Regions from separate parts of the Homo sapiens genome. Here region 1 is linked to region 2. The links are contacts of gene promoters, found by promoter capture Hi-C in human tissues and cell types (Jung and others, 2019). All regions are on one chromosome and are shown on one strand. Each heading gives the region's core, a stretch centred on a gene start or on the middle of the fragment in contact. The rest is flanking DNA. Distances are from core to core; before and after follow the strand shown. Region 1 has its middle 30 kb from the start of PRF1. Region 2 holds the start of TBATA (thymus, brain and testes associated).

Evidence for each region. The method cuts DNA at HindIII sites, captures the fragments that hold promoters and counts their contacts. A contact is called where the count stands out against the background at its distance.
Region 1: a fragment that was not itself captured here is called in contact with the fragment with the promoter of TBATA in region 2 in 2 of the 25 tissues and cell types used here (IMR-90 fibroblasts and dorsolateral prefrontal cortex).

The regions. Positions count from the first base shown.
Region 1 is chr10:70,571,128-70,574,366 of GRCh38, reverse strand. No RefSeq gene overlaps it. Among named protein-coding and RNA genes, the nearest start is that of PRF1, 30 kb to the left of the region's middle. The HindIII fragment of the contact is 5,511 bases long and covers 1-3,239 here.
Region 2 is chr10:70,784,107-70,787,552 of GRCh38, reverse strand. It overlaps TBATA (thymus, brain and testes associated), which reads left to right and starts at 2,176. Exons shown (of 11, transcript NM_001318241.2): 1 at 2,176-2,268; 2 at 2,780-2,906. The HindIII fragment of the contact is 18,774 bases long and covers 1-3,446 here.

The DNA.
Region 1 (3,239 bases), core at 454-2,953, 210 kb after region 2:
AGGCTTAAGGATATTTACAGGTAAGGGAAGTGGGATGATCTAAATCATGGGGACAGGTGATTGGCAGTGGGAAAAAAATGAAGTGACAGGTTCCTCCTGAGCAAGGGTAGTCAGGCTTCACGGCACTTCACAGGGCACATGCAACAAAAATGGTGGCATTTGCATGATCTGAGGGTGTTGTCGTCGGCCCTCTGACTTCAAAAGGCCACCCCTTGGGCACTTGGGCAGTCTAGGGTGAAGGATCGGGGTCTCAGCTAGTTTGAACTAGACAGGCGCTGGCCAAGTTCCTGAAAAACACTGAAGTGAATATTACCATGGTGACCTATGAATGTTATCTATAAAGTAGCCAGTGAAGGTTAAGTTCCAGTGTTCAGCGGTGAGGCCTTCAGCTACCACAGCCTTCAGCTTCATAGAAAAAGCTTGGGAGGGGGAGAATTAAAAAAGCAACCCAAAGCAAGCAGGGCAGGTAGACCTGATGGAATTAGCCCATTTTCAATGTTGTGTGTAAAGAACTTAGTGCAGGCCTCAGCACGCAGTCAGTGCGCAACAGACCCTGGCATCTGCCCTGCCCTCCTTTAGGCCAAGGTGGAGAGGGAGAAGTGCTTTTTCTCCTTTTCCCTCAGGCTACGTAGAGGCAAGAGGGGGAAGGATCAGTCTGCTATTGCCAAGGAAGGGACGCCACCCAGAGAAGGCAGTGACTGGCCAAGGTCCCCAGCAGGCTCTAGAATTAAAGTCACTCTGGAGCTTCCTGTCCCAAACCTGCTGTACTGGGCAATGCAAAGCAGGCAGGTTTTCTGGAAGCCAGGCTGTCTGCCCTAACCCAACCGAACACATTTATGGAAATTCCTGCTACACTCTCCCAGGGCCGATGTGCCAAGGGTTCTCCCGCTGTTGGCTTCCTCTGGGAAACCAAGTTAGTCCTTCCCAACGACTCTCCCTGGCCCACCAACCCCACCTCTGCTCTCATCTTTAGAGAATTCTGCATGGCTTCCCCCAAGAAATACTAAGAAATGCCTTCATGCCTCTTACTGGCTCCTCTAGTGCCAGAGGACACCCAAGCTGAGGTGCTGCATTCCGAGAGCCAGTGGTGCCCTCTGCCCCTGACCCCCTGCCATCACTCATGAGTAATGTCACTTCCATACCACTAACTCAGATACTCCTCAGATGGACTCTTCTGCTCCAGGGCTCCTAATAACATACTCTACAGAACAAGACAATTCTTGCAGTGAGTACCTGCTGTGTGTAAGGCCCAGCAATAGGAACTTCATGGCCATTAACTCTGATCCTTCCACTTACCCTACAAAATAAGCACTTTTTTCTTTTTCTTTTTTTTTTTTTTTTTTTTGAGATGGCATCTCACTCTGTCTCACAGGCTGGAGTGCAGTGGCGTGATCTCGGCTAGCTGCAACCTCCGCCTCCCAGGTTCAAGTGATTCTCCTGCCTCAATCTCCCGAGTAGCAAGGATTACAGGCACCCACCACCATGCCCAGTTAATTTTTGTAGTTTTAGTAGAGATGGGGTTTCACCATGTTATCCAGGCTGGTCTCGAACTCTTGACCTCAGGTGATTCACTCACCTCGGCCTCCCAAAGTGCTGGGATTACAGGCGTGAGCCACCACGTCCGGCCCAAAATAAGCATTTTAATCCCACTTACAATTGAGGACATTGTGTCTCAGAGAGGCAGTGTGATTTACCCAAGCTCTTTTGAACTGCTTCACTGTATGGATGGATGCTGAAACCACGCTTGCTGGCTGAGCAGAAAGGGGTGTGTGTAGCACACAGTACTAGGTGGCCAGAGAAGCAGGCGGGGATGTCACACAGCCAGGGACAGCACAGAGAGGAGAAAGGCCCAACCACCCACGGGGCTGCACGGGTCTCAGTGATACCTTTTAAAACCAGAGCCCAGGGAGTAGGAATGAGAACAGGGAGGGAGATAAAGATACTGGTTGAATTTTCACAACTAGTGGATGGTTACACTGTACTTGTGTGAATAAAAGACGAACAGCTTTTTGTAAGAGAAAACCAGTTACAATACATGCGTGCCAATTCTGCAGATACAATTTGAGGTTTCCGCACTGAACACCACAAGAAAGGACCAGGCAGGCGATGGCCGGTGGGCGGCTTCATTCTTTCTGTTCATCCAAAACCAGTTCTTGTGACAAGTAGAGAAACCAAAGGCCCTTTGTGGATGGGCCCTTCTCAGGGTCTGGCCAGATCTCAAGTCTGGCTAAAGGATGGGAGAGAGGGTGCAGAGATTAAGAAGAGCTCAGACCATCAGTGCTATATGGTTTCCGGGGTGCGGTGGTCCCACCCGACACCACAGGCCCCCTGGCTCCCCCTGGGTCCACAACATCACTGGTTCCTTGTTCTAGAAGCTCCAGAAGAGAGGCAAGTGGCGTCCTGGCTGGTTCTGGCCTATCACACCGCCACTGTTCTCCAAACCCTGCCCCACCCTAGCTCTCACGACACCTGGCGAAAATGATTTGTTCATTCTCTCTTGTCCTTGCAGTGCCACCAGCTCCTGGAAGGCAGGCTGTCCCCGTCCACAGCTCCCTGGTGCCTGGCATGGTGCCTGGTCTGTGTAGATGCCCAATTTTGCAGTGATCTGCTGCATCACTGCCCACAGCTGACATGCACAGACCTCCCCCTTGCACATGTCCCCTTATACACAGAACACTAAGGGCAGTCATCACGACACTAAGGGGTGCACGTCCCAGGTGGACCCAGCTAAGGCCCGCCTAGTCTGGGCAAACTGGTGTGACAGGACCCCCAGAAGATTGAGGGGCTTCCAGGAGAGAACATGTCTTAAGGGAGTGGGAGCCAGGCATATCAAGGCTGCTAGCCTGGGGTACCGGGTCTCCACCAGGGCAGCAGGGAAGACAGGGTGGAGGCTTAACCAGGGACCTGGCCAAATCCTTGGTTAAAAGTAGGCACAGACCCAAGGTCAAGTCCCGCCTGACACGGCACAGCCTGGGCACCTGAAATGGGGGTGGGGGTAGGGTCAGGGATGTCTGAAGTCCTGGAAGCAATGAGGATGCCACATGACAGTGACCACACATGTAGATCAATGGGGGACTCCTTCTGAGCACCCACAGGGCTTGGAGAGAGAGACTGGGCAAAGTCAGCTAAAACTGATTGTATACTCACAGGCACTGTCAGGCACTGTCCTAAAGGTTGCATGTATATTAACTCGTTTTTTAATATTATAATTCAGCAATATGTACTGGTATTTAAGAAAG
Region 2 (3,446 bases), core at 927-3,426:
TAGGCAAAAATCTCTTAAAACACAAAACCCACTAACCATTAAGGACAAAATTGATAAACTGGGTTATGTTAAAATTAGGAATTCTCTTTATCAAAAGACTGCATATAGACACAGACAAGCAAGACACAAAGGAGAGAATATATTTGCAACACAAATAACTAAAGATTTATCTGATCATTAATTTCTCCATCTATAGGATTACATGAGGTAATATATCTAAGAGGTTGGCACAGTGCCTGGCACATAGAAAGTGTTCCATGAAGTTTCTATTGCCTCTGTTATGACTGAGTCATCCAGGCCAAGGACTGTACCTCAAATCACTCTCAGGCTGACAGATCTCTCTACAGTTTTTGACACTCCACAAAGGAGTCAGAAGAGTTTCCTCAGTTCTTCTTTTACAAACCAGTGTTGAAGACATTTCCTGAGGAACCCCTTCATCCCCCCAGCTGCAGTCCCTATGCAGACCCCCATGCTCGATTGTAAATAACATAGTTGAAGCATTACAAGGCACCAGTGGGGAGGATGAGAGTGGGTTTTCATCTCAGCTGAGTCAGCTCGCGTGGTGGGAAATGCCACAAGAGTGCTGAAAGCAGGAGGGAGGAGTGGCTTGTCACGGGGAAGAAAGCCTCTCTTCTCCCAAATGCTATATCATCTATCTTCACAGCTGCCAGGATGCCCAGAAGTATGGAAGAGGGGGTTTTCAGTATGATTTCAAAAGAGTCACCGTATTCCTGCAGAGACAGGCCCAGAAAAAGCCAGGGAACATCCTGACCTGCCGAAGGATGGGTGGGCATTTGGAGTAGGCCAAGACCAGAGGACAGCCCTCAGGGGGCCACCAGAGTGGTATGAATCCCCACCCCTTAGCTGGGAGGGGCAGAACTTTTGAAGGACTTGGGTTTGCCTCTAGCTACCCACCTTCCTTTTCTTGCTCCCCAGAGAAAAGACACAGAGTCTGGAAGCCCCAGGGCACCAGTATGAAGCCAGGGGTGCTGAGAGCAAAGGCCCTGGGAAAAGCCCACCTCATCATTCTGAGGGACAGCACCCGGCACTGTCTGCAAGCCTTCCCATAGTTTACAGAGCCTGTCTGCACCCCTCCCGGGATCTGATTGAGTTACAGCCCTGTCGGCTAAGAACTATCCTTACCCCCATTTGACAGGTGTCCAAGTTGAGCCTCAGAGAAATAGTGAACTACCTAAGATAGTTCTCAGACAAAGGACTCATCCTACTACCTCCATCAAGTTACCAATAATAATGATGATTATTATCCTTTTTGAGCATCTCTTGTGTGCCAGACATACAACTAAAGGCTTCACTTCCATTAGCTTGTCTTCAGAACAACCACAGAAGTAGGTGAGGATATCCCATTTTATAGACCCAGAGAAGGCAATAATAGTAAGAAATTATACTTGGGGGCAGATACTGTTTGAAACGCTTTAATATATATCAACTCACTTAATATTCTCAAACATCCTGTGAGAATAAGTGCAGTATCATCATCTCCATTTTAGAGATATGGGAACTAAGGCTCAGAGAAGGCAGGTGCATTGTCTGAGGCCACACAACTAGGAAGTAGCAGAATAGGGACTCGAAGCAAGGATTCTTCCCACTATTTTGCATCTGTGGCAGTCCCGGTGACTTACCCAAGGTAACGTGTCTATGGGATGTTGAAATCTGATTAAAACACCTGTCCAAATGCAAGCCCAGAATCTTCCCACCCAGCTGTCATGCAGAGAGAGGGGCTGGGGTCCCTCTGGGTAATGCGGGCTGCCATCTTCTCTCCTTCCAAGACCCACCTCCCTGAGAATGGGTCCCCAGAACCAAGATGCATGGAAGCCGACCCCTGTGTGGTGGGGTCAGGCCAGGTGGGGCTGACGAAGCTGGGACGCAGCCCACCAACGTCCTCTGCCAGCGTTCCGCCTCCATCCGCTTCTCTCTGGCTAAAACCAGCCCCAGACTCTCCTTCTCTCCCTTGGCCCCCATTGAAAGTGTTGGATGGGAGGCAGCAGGGAAGTCAGGAGGGACAGAAGGTCCTTAGCCCTTGTCTACCCTTCCAGGAGGGGGAGATAGGCAGGGGATGTGGTAGAGGGGTGCTGGGCAGAGGTTCTGGAGTTGTGGGAACAGGGTAACCTAGCAACCACTGGGCTCAGTGTCACAAAGCAGGCAGACTTGCCCACAGAACCCACAGCCTTCCCCTCGATTTGTCCTCTTGCTCCTTCCTGCTAGGACAGCAGGGCTTCTCGTACACATGCTGTAGCGGGCACTGCCTTGGTGAGTCCAGGGACCTCTCGGGAGAGGAGATGGACCCTGGACAGCCCAGAAGGGCAGAGGTAGAAAGGGAAGTTTTGTGGCTGGATTGATGGGAGCCCTCAGACCCCTCTGCCTGGCTGGCTGGGGCCCCAGGGACAGAGAGCAGGGGCAGGGCAGGGCAGACTACACTGGGGTCCCACCTGTCCCGCTCTGGACAAGGCAGGCTTGGCCTACTAGAGTCCCTGTCAGCCTCTCTACAGCCGCTGTGGGTTATGACCCCCTGGTGGCTTATTAGATCAATTTAAATGGATCATATCTAACATTTAAGAAATAAAAACCAAAAATAGGGTAAAAATATCAGTGTGCATCATATGTAGTACGGATAAATATTGCTTCAGGATATTATTGTTTTAGTTTCACACACACACACAAACCCATATGTGAATTGGATCATGACATAAAGAATTTCTTACCGTCATCACAGCCAAACACATTTGCAAGTCTCTGTTCTAAAGAGTACTTTTTCCCATAGGCAGGAGGATTTGGGGCTTCCACATATCCTGTTCTCAAGATTGTAGCATCTCAGTACTCTAGAGCCCAGTACCTGACATCAAGGATGTCTGGAGCTTCCTTTTAAGGAAAGAAAAGATCAGCAAACTGTGAGTCAGACTGCCCGGGCTCTGGTTCCTTCTGTGTGACCTCAGCAAATCTCCCCTGCTTCCCTGATCTCAGACAACTCCAACCCATCCCACTACCTGATGAAGGCTGGCATTGGGAGATCTCTGGGGTCCCTTGCAGATTCTGTGACTCTGAGGGTTAATTCTCAGAATGCACTGATGTCCTGTCCCAACCCCATCCCTAGCACTTTGGCTAGATATATATATTCAGGTCCATAGATTTAATCATAATTCTTGGTTTTGACACCTATCATCTTTCATCTATGCCATTTAATTAGTTTATTTAATAATATAATAAACACAAGCAAATACACCACCCAAACCAAGAACAAGAACATCATCACTAACACATCTCCTTATATGCGCTTCTCCTGCACACTTCCCCTCCCCGCCTTCCCTCGGAAATAGCCACTATGTGAATTTCGTGCTTAGCATTTCCTTGTTTGATGCTGTTGTTGCTGTTTTATCGCATGTTCATGATCATTTTGCTTGCTTTTAAACTTTTATTTTTAGAAAGGATCT